2 separate regions of the Homo sapiens genome follow, and region 1 is linked to region 2. Evidence: promoter capture Hi-C in 16 types of primary human blood cells and fetal thymus (Javierre and others, 2016). All regions are on one chromosome and are shown on one strand. Each heading gives the region's core, a stretch centred on a gene start or on the middle of the fragment in contact. The rest is flanking DNA. Distances are from core to core; before and after follow the strand shown. Region 1 holds the start of SNHG12 (small nucleolar RNA host gene 12). Region 2 holds the start of PHACTR4 (phosphatase and actin regulator 4).

Region 1 (5,184 bases), core at 2,527-5,026, 210 kb after region 2:
GTGAAACCCTGTCTCTACTAAAAATACAAAAATTAGCCAGACATAGTGGTGCGTGCTTATAGTCCCAGCTACTCAGGAGGCTGAGGCAGGAGAATCACTTGAACCTGGGAGGCAATTAGCCAAGATTGTGCCACTGCACTCCAGCCTGGGTGACAGAAAGACCCTGTCTCAAAAAAAAAAAAAAAAAAAGCTGTAACTTTGACACAGACCTAAGTAACCTTATAGTTCTATTAGGTTGACTACTTAGGACAGGATCCCAGATAGTTGAGCACTACCTGCAGCTACACACCAAGTTGTGACAAAGCTTTGGGTAGTCACTAACTTACCCAACTCCATAGGTCCATAGTCACAAATGAGGACAGCTTTACATGTAACATGAATCTAAAAGAAAAAAACACCACCCTTAATTAAGAGGCAAGGAAGCTATGACAGATCCCTCCCAAATGCAGTAATAGGTCAGCTATTACTATACCAACCTCCAGAGCTTCACACGCATCCTTCCCTTAGCCTAAGATTATACTTCATTTTACAATTTCAGAGATCCAACCATCTCTGAAACCTGTCTGAAACTAGCCCACATGCCATATACCAGATTACAACATTTAGGCCAGCTTCACTATTACTTTTCCTCCTTTTACGACCACCAAGACCAGTGTTCAGATCCGATGGGAAAGGGATCAGGAGGATTAAGCTGATCAACTTTACCTTAAAGCACAGCTCCAGAAACAAGCTCACCTCCTCAGTATCACACACTGCCAGGAAACTTGGGGGCAACCTGCAGAACAAAAAGCTTAGCGTGAAAACTAAACTGGCCAGGAGCGGTGGCTCATGCCTGTAATCCCAGCACTTTGGAAGGGGAGGCCGAGTCGGGCGGATCACCCGAGGTCAGAAGTTCGAGACCCATCTAGCCAACATGGTGAAAACCATCTCTACTAAAAATACAAGAAAATTAGCTGGGTGTGATGGTGGGCACCTGTAATCCCAGCTACTCGGGAGGATGAGGTAGGAGAGTCGCTTGAACCCAGGAGGCAGAGGTTGCCATGAGCCGAGATCATGCCACTGCACTCCAGCAGCCTGGGTGACAGAGCAAGACTCCGTCTCAAAAAAAAAAAAAAAAAAAAACCCATCTACATTGAAGTTGACACATGGAAGGCTTCCAGCCCTGGTCCTGAAACATTATAGGAAAGCTGAGTGGCAGCTTGCAGGTATTGTACTGACCTGCGCTGTCAAAGTCTTTCCAGGTTGCTCTTGCATGCAGTTGGAGATCCCATGGCTATGACCAGCCACAGCCCTTGGAAACATGCTGTTCTGTCCCACCAGGCAGCCCCCAGTTAGTCTCCAAAAGAAACCTACCAGGTCCCCTGCATTTCATCACTGTCATTACCCCGGAAGTCCTCGATCACCAGAAAAATCACCTTCTGTCATCTTAAGAGTCTTCATCTGGACAGCAAAATGAGAACAACTGTCATGAACAATTTTATTGTTCCCATCATTTGGTCCTCAGAATGATACAAATCTGACCAGCCTTTGGTCCCAATACTGATGCCTTAAGCTATCAGTTAAGCTGTGTCACATCCCAGCTGGATTTTCCCAGTACGAGTCTTATGCTGGTTAACTGTACATGCAAACCCCCAACCGTTCTGCTGTTCTGTGGAAACAAGCCCATTTTGATAAAGGTCTCTGGCTACAGCTGAAAGGTGGCAGGTACAATGGAACTGTATTTTCCCAAAATGTTGCAGATCAGTTACAACAAACAGAACGGCGACCGTCAAGGAAAACTGTCACTCTGGGCTCCTTTTTGACCACAGCAGCTATGCGGAAGCAGCTGCAGCTTCGATAAGGGCCAAGGGGCAATTCAGATCCCAGGGCGGCCGCCTAAAGCCTCACCTGTCCATCATTACTACCTGCTTAAGTACGCCGGGATCTCTGTAGACTAAGTCAGTCATCCTGTAGGCCCCACTGCCCACGCTGTGCCAATAGCTGGTGTGCTTTTTCTCAGTCTTGATGGGACCGTTTTATCCGCCTATTACAGGTAAGAGGTTTAGACCGATTAAGTTACTTCCTGAAGGTCGCTTAGTCACTTAGCGAGGCTGAAAGCAACAAGCTGGGATGCACGCAAGGGTCTGAATGCCTAAAACCCGTCCTTCTGAAAACCGTGTCTACCAGGGCGACCTCCAGAGGTCTCGCGCGTAGTCACCAGTCCCAAAATCACCTAGCTGGTAAATGTCACAGATTCAACTGGAGGCCATCCTGACACCAGCATGCGGCCTCCCCCTGAATTAAGACACTTCAGGCCCAGGGATTCATCCCCGCATCCCCCAGGAGACCGGTTCCCAAACCCCCACCCCTTCCGTAAACCCGGCCGCCTGCCTGCAACACTCACCTGTCAGCCCAGAGCGCAGCGTTGCGCAGTCCGAAGCGAGAGAAGGGCGCGGCCCCCGCGGGCTCCCGCCCCTCTCACTGCCGAGGGGGCCTTTCGGAGCTCGGGCCCACCGGGTTGGAAGGCCCGGCTCCTCCGTGCCACATTCACCACCATCTCGAGGCCGTGGGAGGAAAAACCCGGCGAGTGCGCGCCAGCAGCAGCGACTAGCGGGGAACGGCGCGCAGGAAGGCAGGCAGAGGCTTGCAGCTAGTAAGTCGACACCGGGAATGCGGCGGGGAGAAAGGGCGCTGAAGCCGCGAGCAAGAGCTTATATAGGCCGCCCCTCGCGGCCACACCCGACAGTAGGCCGCCCGCGTGGCGCACAGCTGCCTGGGAGTTGTAGTTTGCTCGCCCCGGCGTTGTCCGCGCGTCACCTCCCCAGCCCTACGCGCGTGTCCATCCCGAGCCCGCGAAGCGAGAACCGCCAGAGGCTTTCCTCCGAGCGGAAGAAGCGCCTTCACCTTTCAGTGCCCGGCGCTGGGCCCACGCAGGAAGCCGACCCGCCTTGGCCTCTGGAGTTGTCTCTGGGATGTCTTTCAGTCTGGAAATGAACCCTGTGTGCTGGGAAAGGGCTCGGGCTCCGCTCCGAGCTCAGTGGGCGTGCGAGCGAGCAGCGCCTGAGTGGGTTTCGGGGAGGGGGTCATACTCCCCGAAAGGCGATTTATTCAAGGCTTGTCTCTTCCACTAATATGTAATTTTACTGAGCGCGTGCTATTTTAACTGTGTCTGATTATCTGATCTAGTTTTCATAAAAACCCTGTGTACGCTCTGTGGACAAATAAGGAAACTTAGGAATGGATCACACAGCTATCGCAAGCGAGGAGAGGACTGGAATTTGGAGCCCACCCCAGGCACCACACATAGCGCAATGTTTTGCCCATGGAATGAATAAGCCTCAGTATGAAAACTTAGTGGTGATTGCCGAGAATTAAACACCCATCCTGTGCCTAATCTATTAATTTTTATTCTTACATACACTTTTTTGTTTGAGACAGGGTCTTGTTCTGTTGCCCAGGCTGGAGTGCAGTGGCGTGATCAAGGCTCATTGCAGCCTCGACCAACTGGGCTCAAGCAATTCTTCCACCTCAGCCTCCCAGGTAGATGGGACTACAGGTGCGGGCCAACTTTCCTTGCTTACACTTTAAAAAGTAGGTACTACTGCCGGGTGCGGTTACTCACGCCTGTAATCCCAGCACTTTGGGAGGCCAAGGCGGGTGGATCACGAGGTCAGGAGATCGAGACCATCCTGGCTAACACGGCGAAACCCGGTCTCTACTAAAAAAAAATACAAAAAAAAATTAGCCGGGCGTGGTCGCGGGCGCCTGTAGTCCCAGCTACCCGGGAGGCTGAGGCAGGAGAATGGCGTGAACCCGGGAGGCGGAGCTTGCAGAGAGCCGAGATCGCGTCACTGCACTCTAGCCTGGGCAACAGAACGAGACTCTGTCTCAAAAAAATAAAATAAAATAAAAAGTAAGTACTACTTTAGCAGGTCGTGGGGGCGCATGCCTGTGGTCCTGGACTCCTCTCTTTCTCTAACATCACATGTCCAAGCCATCAGCAACTCCTGTGTGCTCTACCTTTAAAATGTATCAATAATCTGACTGTTTCTTACCCCTTCCACTGATGTTACCCTAATCGTTGACCCAGATGATAGCAATAGTCTCTTATCTCCCAGATCCTGCTGTTGCTCCCGACAGTCTGGTCTCCACACGCCAGCCAGCCTGCTAAAAGTTTTTTAATTTTTATGAAGTCTAAGAGTCAATTTTTTTTTTTGTAGTTTATGCTTTTTTTTTTTTTTCTTGAGACGGAGCTGCTCTGTCGCCCAGGCTGGAGTGCAGTGGCGCCATCTCAGCTCACTGCAAGCTCCCGCTCCCGGGTTCACGCCATTCTCCTGCCTCAGCCTCCCAAGTAGCTGGGATTACAGGCGCCCGCCACCACGCCCGGCTAATTTTTTGTATTTTTAGTAGAGACAGGGTTTCCCCATGTTGGGCAGGATGGTCTCGATTTCCTGACCTCGTGATCCACCCGCCTCGGCCTCCCAAAGTGCTGGGATTACAGGCACGAGCCACCGCGCCCGGCCGTTTGTTTACGCTTTAAAAGCTTAATAATTATGCTGGGCGCGGTGGCTCCCACCTGTAATTCCAGCACTTTGGGAGTCCGAGGGGGCAGATAACCTGAGGTCAGGATTTCAAGTCCAGCCTAGCCAACATGGTGAAAACCCGTTTCTACTAAAAATACAAAAATTAGCTGGGCGTGGTGGCAGGCGCCTGTAATCCCAGCTACTTGGGAGGCTGAGGCAGGAGAATCGTTTGAACCTGGGAAGCGGAGGTTGAAGTGAGCTAAGATGGAGCCATTACACTCCAGCCTGGGCGACAAGAGCGAGACTCCGTCTCAAAAAAAAAAGAAAAAAAGTAAAATTATTAAACTTTTTTTTTTTTTTTTGGAGATGAAGTCTCGCTTTTTCGCCCAGGCTTGTGCAGTTTATTCTGTGTCAATTATGCCTCAATAAAGCTGTCAAAAAACCATTAAGAAAAAATGTATATCTCCCAGGCGCAGTAGCTCCCACCAATTCGGGAGGCCAAGGCAGGTGGATTACCTGACATCAGGAACTAGAGACCAGCCTGGCCAACATGACAAAACCCCATCTCTACTAAAAATACAAAAAAAAAAAATTACCCAGGCATGGTGACACTCATCTACAGTCCCAGCTACTTGGGAGGCTAAGGCATAAGAATCGCTCGAACCTGGGAGGCAGAGGTTGC
Region 2 (5,080 bases), core at 2,215-4,714:
TTTTTCCCCCCAACATCTTTCATGTTATTTGCCATCCATTTAGTTTCTCTCTTTGGTAAATTGTCTCTGCTAATTGTTTTTCAAATTGGGTTGTTTGTCTTCTTGTTGAGTTGAAATAACTCTGTATATTTCCAGGTAATGGTTACATGTTTTGCGCAATTTTACTCTGATCTGTGGCTTGTCTTCATTTTCTCTCTCTTTCTCTCTTTTCTTTCTTTCTTTCTTTCTTTTTTTTTTTTGACGGAGTTTTGCCCAGGCTGGAGTGCAATGGCGCAATCTCTGCTCACTGCAACCTCAGCCTCCTGGGTTCAAGCAATTCTCCTGCCTCAGCCTCCCAAGAAGCTGGGATTACAGGCATGCACCACCACATCTGGCTAATTTTTTTGTATTTTAATAGAGATGGGGTTTCACCATGTTGGCCAGGCTGGTCCTGAACTCCTGACCTCAGGTGATCCACTCGCTTCAGCCTCTGAAAGTGTGGGGATTACATGGGTGAGTCACTGAGCCTGGCCAGCTTATCTTTCTTTTCTTTTTTTTTTTTTTTTTTTTGAGACGGAGTCTCGCTCTGTCGCCCAGGCTGGAGTGCAGTGGCACAGTCTCCGCTCACTGCAAGCTCTGCCTCCCAGGTTCACACCATCCTCCTGCCTCAGCCTCCCGAGTAGCTGGGACCACAGGCGCCCACCACCACGCCCGGCTAATTTTTTGTATTTTTAGTAGAGACGGGGTTTCACTGTGTTAGCCAGGATGGTCTCGATCTCCTGACTTCGTGATCTGCCCACCTCGGACTCCCAAAGTGCTGGGATTACAGGCGTGAGCCACCGCGCCCGGTTTTATCTTTATTTTCATAACAGTCTTGACTAAAGTTTGAAATTTTGATGATATACAATTTATTCAATTTTTTTCTTTTCTTTTCTTTTCTTTTTTTTTTTTTTGAGACGGAGTCTCGCTCTGTTGCCCAGGCTGGAGTGCAGTGGCAAGATCTCGGCTCACTTGCAAGCTCTGCCTCCCGGGTTCACGCCATTCTCCTGCCTCAGCCTCCCGAGTAGCTGGGACTACAGGAGCCCGCCATCGCGCCCAGCTAATTTTTTGTATTTTTAGTAGAGATGGGGTTTCACCGTGTTAGCCAGGATGGTCTCAATCTCCTGACTTTGTGATCCACCTGCCTCGGCCTCCCAAAGTGCTAGGATTACAGGCGTGAGCCACCACGCCCGGCAATTTTTTTCTTTTTAAAATTTATTTATTTATATTTTAGAGATGGAGTCTCACTGTGTTGCCCAGGCTGGTCTTGAACCCATGGTCTCAACCAGCCCTCCAGCCTTGGCCTTCCAGAGTGCTGGAATTACAGGCATGAGTTATCATGTGTAGCCTATTAATTTAAAAAAATATATTTTTTAATTTTATTTTTGAGACTGAGTTTCCCTCTTGTAACCCAGGCTGGAGTGCAATGGTGCGATCTCGGCTCCCTGAAACCTCCGCCTCCTGGGTTCAAGCGCTTCTCCTGCCTCACCCTCCTGAGTAGCTGGGATTACAGGGGTGGGCCATCACGCCCAATAAATTTTTGTATTTTTTTTTTTTAAGACGGGATCTCGCTCTGTTGCCCAGGCTGGAGTGCAGTGGCGCGATCTCAGATCACTGCAAGCTCTGCCTCCCGGGTTCACGCCATTCTCCTGCCTCAGCCTCCCGAGTTGCTGGGACTACACGCGCCCTCCACCACGCCCGGCTAATTTTTTGTATTTTTAGTAGAGACAGGGTTTCATTGCGTTAGCCAGGATGGTCTCGATATCCTGACCTCGTGACCCGCCCGCCTCAGCCTCCCAAAGTGCTGGGATTACAAGTGTGAGCCACCGTGCCCGGCCAATTTTTGTATTTTTAGTAGAGATGTGGTTTCACCATTTTGGAGAGGCTGGTCTCGAACTCCTGACCTCAGGTGATCTACCAGCCTCAACCTCACAAAGTGCTGGGATTACAGGCGTGAGCCACCGTGCCAGGCCAATAAATATATTTTAAATATTTTTTTGAGACAAGGTCTCCCTCTGTCGTCCAGGCTGGAGTGTAGCGACACCATCACAGCTCATTGCAGCCTGGACCTCCCCAGCTCAAATAATCCTCCTATTTCAGCCTCCTGAGTACCTGGGACTACAGGCACGTTCCATCATGCCCAGCTAATTTTTAAAATTGTTTTTGTAGAGATGGGGCCTCACTCTGTTGCCCAGGCTGGCAGGCTGGTCTCAAACTCCAGGGCTCAAGGGATCCTCCCGCCTTAGCCTCCCAAAGTGCTGGGATGAGAGGTGTGAGCCACTGCACCCGGCCAATTTTTTTTTCTTCTTTTTTCTTTTTCTATTGAGACAGGGTCTTGCTCTGCTGCCCAGGCTGGAGTGCACTGGTGCGATCTCGACCCCCCAGGCTCAAGTGATCATCTCACCTCAGCCTCCCACGTAGCTGGGACTACAGGAGCTTGGCACTAGGCCCCGGATAATTTGTTTGTTTGTTTGTTTGTTTGTTTTGCGACGGAGTCTTGCTCTGTCGCCCAGGCTGGACTGCAATGGCAAGATCTCGGCTCACTGCAACCTCCGCCTCCTGGGTTCAAGCGATTCTCCTGCCTCAGCCTCCTGAGTAGCTGGGATTACAGGCATGCGCCACCGCGCCTGGCCAATTTTTTTAATTTTATGGATAGTGTATTTGAAAAGTCACATCGATTTTTCTCCTGGAATGTCCTCTAGATGTGCCGTAGCTTCAAGTTTTACATGTAGGTCTAATTTAGGTTGTGTGATACAATGGGTTTGCATTTAGAAGGGTCCTCTGGCAGCAGCAAGGAAGGTTTTCGGAGGGTGATAGCCTAGGGCCTGAAACTACTGAGACTTGGAGAGAAGTGATGGTGGCTTTCACTAGGTGATAGTAGTGAAGGATATCGAAATGAATTAAAATACTGGGGATGTAGAATGACTGGACTTAATGGCTTGAGGGAAGTGTCCAGAATGATTCCTGGGTTTCTTACGCACAACACTGAGGGTAGATAACTTGCTTGTACGTTTTTTGCACTTCAAATTGGTCCTCAATAAATAGTTTTTCCTTTGGGGAGGTTATGATTGAAATTTGGCCAGTCAGGGATACAGTTTTCTCAAACAACACTCTTGTATCAGTTCCCTTTTTGGGTACTGCCTGGAGCCCAGTATTGAACCCTGTCCTCCCAAGCCCAAAGACCTTTGCCTCCCATAGTACCAGGAAAGGTGCCCAAGTTCTTTTACACACAAGGTGCGCAGAGCGGCCAGCGCATGCCCAGAGAGGTCGTAAGGAGGACGACCGCCCGGAGAGAAAGGACGCACGCTTCCCGCCATTTTGTTCAGCTTGCCGGGCAACCGGCCCCTGCTGGGGACTACAAGTCCCGTAAGCCTCCGCGGCGGCACGTCCTACCCTACACTGTCCAGCCGGCTCCCTTTTTCCCCCTCCCCGGGGGCCAAGGGCTCCGGCTGCTGCCTGGCGGCCAACGGGCCAGGTAGGATTTCCGGGAGAGGCTGCTGTGGAGGCTGAGGAGGCGGCGGCGGAGATCTGGGTAAGTTCAGCGAGCAAGGGAAAGTGAGCAGGACGCGCTCAGTATCAGGCTGCGGCCTCCTCTCAGGCTGCGGCCCCTTTCTTGGCTCTGCGAGAGGGTCCCGGTCCGGGCAGAAGGTAACGGCCCGGGTCGCCGTCGCTTCGGGCCAGGGCGGGGCGGGGCCGCCGCCTCCCTCCTCGGCCCTCCCACAACGGTCCAACCCGGGCTTCTCCGCCTGAGGCAGGGCCCGCGCAGGCTCGCCCTCTCCGCCCCCCGAGACTTGGCTGGGCCCTTTTGTCTGGGCTGCGTTGCTCCCCCTTTGTGTCCGTGCATGGAGTCTCCGCCACGGGGGAGCCTGTTCCCCCGGTCCCCAACAGGGACTGCTCCCTGGGGATCCGGTTACAGTAACCGGATCGGGTCAAAGTACATTTTTCAAAACCGTCCTGCCTCAGACCTCTGCACCCCTGCTGGGCAGAACGGGGGCTTCGGAGCCAGGCGGAGTTTCTGTAAAAACCTGGAGGTTATTATTTAACTTTCAAACATCAGCCTGGGCGGCTTCAGGGCACGAAACTCCCGACGTTTTTCTTGGTGGAGAGATGAGATTAAGGAAAAGAAGCGACCCCTCTCTCCCACCCTCTACACCCCGGCTCCGGGAAACCGGGAAGGCATCGAATTTGCTGCGATGTCTGTGCAGCTCACATCTGTGATCGGTGGACCAAAGAACCAGTGGTGAATGGTAGAATGGCAGTTCACGCACCTCCCAAATCTCGGAGGAGAGTGACTTACAGGGCATCACTGATTGCTTGCAAAAAAAAAAAACCCTCCAGTGCTTCATTCGGACACTCAGCTCCTCGCTCCTTCCAACCTCTTCCTTTTCTTGTTCTTTTTAAAACAAACAGTGGAAGGAAAAAGTCCTTCAGTGGAAGAATTTGCTTTATAGAGGAACCAGAAACCCAGTGGCTTCTAGAAGTCACTTACTTTTTCGCCAAATTAAAGAAATGAATTTCGGGCGTGGTGGCGCGCGCCTGTAATGCCAACTATTCTGGAGGCTGAGGCAGGAGAATCGCTTGAGGCCAGAAGTTCGCGACCAGCCTGGGCAACACAGCAAGACCCCATCTTAAAAAAAAAAGGAATGAAGCCCGTTTAGAAATGAAGCCAGTTTAGGGGATGAGGTGTGGTAGATTCTTACCGGAAACCGCGGAACTGCGTGGATTGTGGATTCGATCAAATTTGGCTAGATAATGGTAACTGTGTATGTCCTCCTGTTGGAAGACTGCATTGCTAGAATCAGCTTAAGGTAAAATTTGTTTGTTTGTTTCATTTAAGAGACAAGAGTCTAGCTTGGTTGCTGAAGCTTGAGTACAGTGGAGAGCTCCTAGTTCACTGTAGCCTCGAACTTCTTGGCTTAAGCCATCCTTCCACCAGAGGCTCCCAGATGCCTGGGACTAGAGGCATGAGCCACTGTGCCCGACTATTTAATTTAATTTATTTATATTTATTTATTTATTTTGAGACAATCTCACTTTGTTACCCAGGCTGGAATGCAATGGC

Evidence for each region. The method cuts DNA at HindIII sites, captures the fragments that hold promoters and counts their contacts. A CHiCAGO score of 5 or more calls a contact.
Region 1: a contact is called between the fragment with the promoter of SNHG12 here and the fragment with the promoter of PHACTR4 in region 2, in 15 of 17 cell types (fetal thymus, endothelial precursors, erythroblasts and 12 more). The highest score is 17.1, in fetal thymus.

What each region holds. Positions count from the first base shown.
Region 1 is chr1:28,579,207-28,584,390 of GRCh38, forward strand. SNHG12 (small nucleolar RNA host gene 12) reads right to left here and starts at 3,777. Exons shown (of 6, transcript NR_146382.1): 1 at 2,884-3,777; 2 at 1,905-2,023; 3 at 1,354-1,440; 4 at 706-775; 5 at 327-381. SNORA61 (small nucleolar RNA, H/ACA box 61) reads right to left here and starts at 687; the gene lies at 558-687. It overlaps SNORA44 (small nucleolar RNA, H/ACA box 44), which reads right to left and starts at 1,306; the gene lies at 1,175-1,306. SNORA16A (small nucleolar RNA, H/ACA box 16A) reads right to left here and starts at 1,847; the gene lies at 1,714-1,847. RefSeq lists enhancers at 1,373-2,158, 2,159-2,944. The HindIII fragment of the contact is 3,732 bases long and covers 789-4,520 here.
Region 2 is chr1:28,366,276-28,371,355 of GRCh38, forward strand. PHACTR4 (phosphatase and actin regulator 4) reads left to right here and starts at 3,465. Exons shown (of 14, transcript NM_001048183.3): 1 at 3,465-3,550. RefSeq lists enhancers at 2,637-3,592, 3,243-3,537 and a silencer at 3,619-3,838. The HindIII fragment of the contact is 7,867 bases long and covers 1-4,881 here.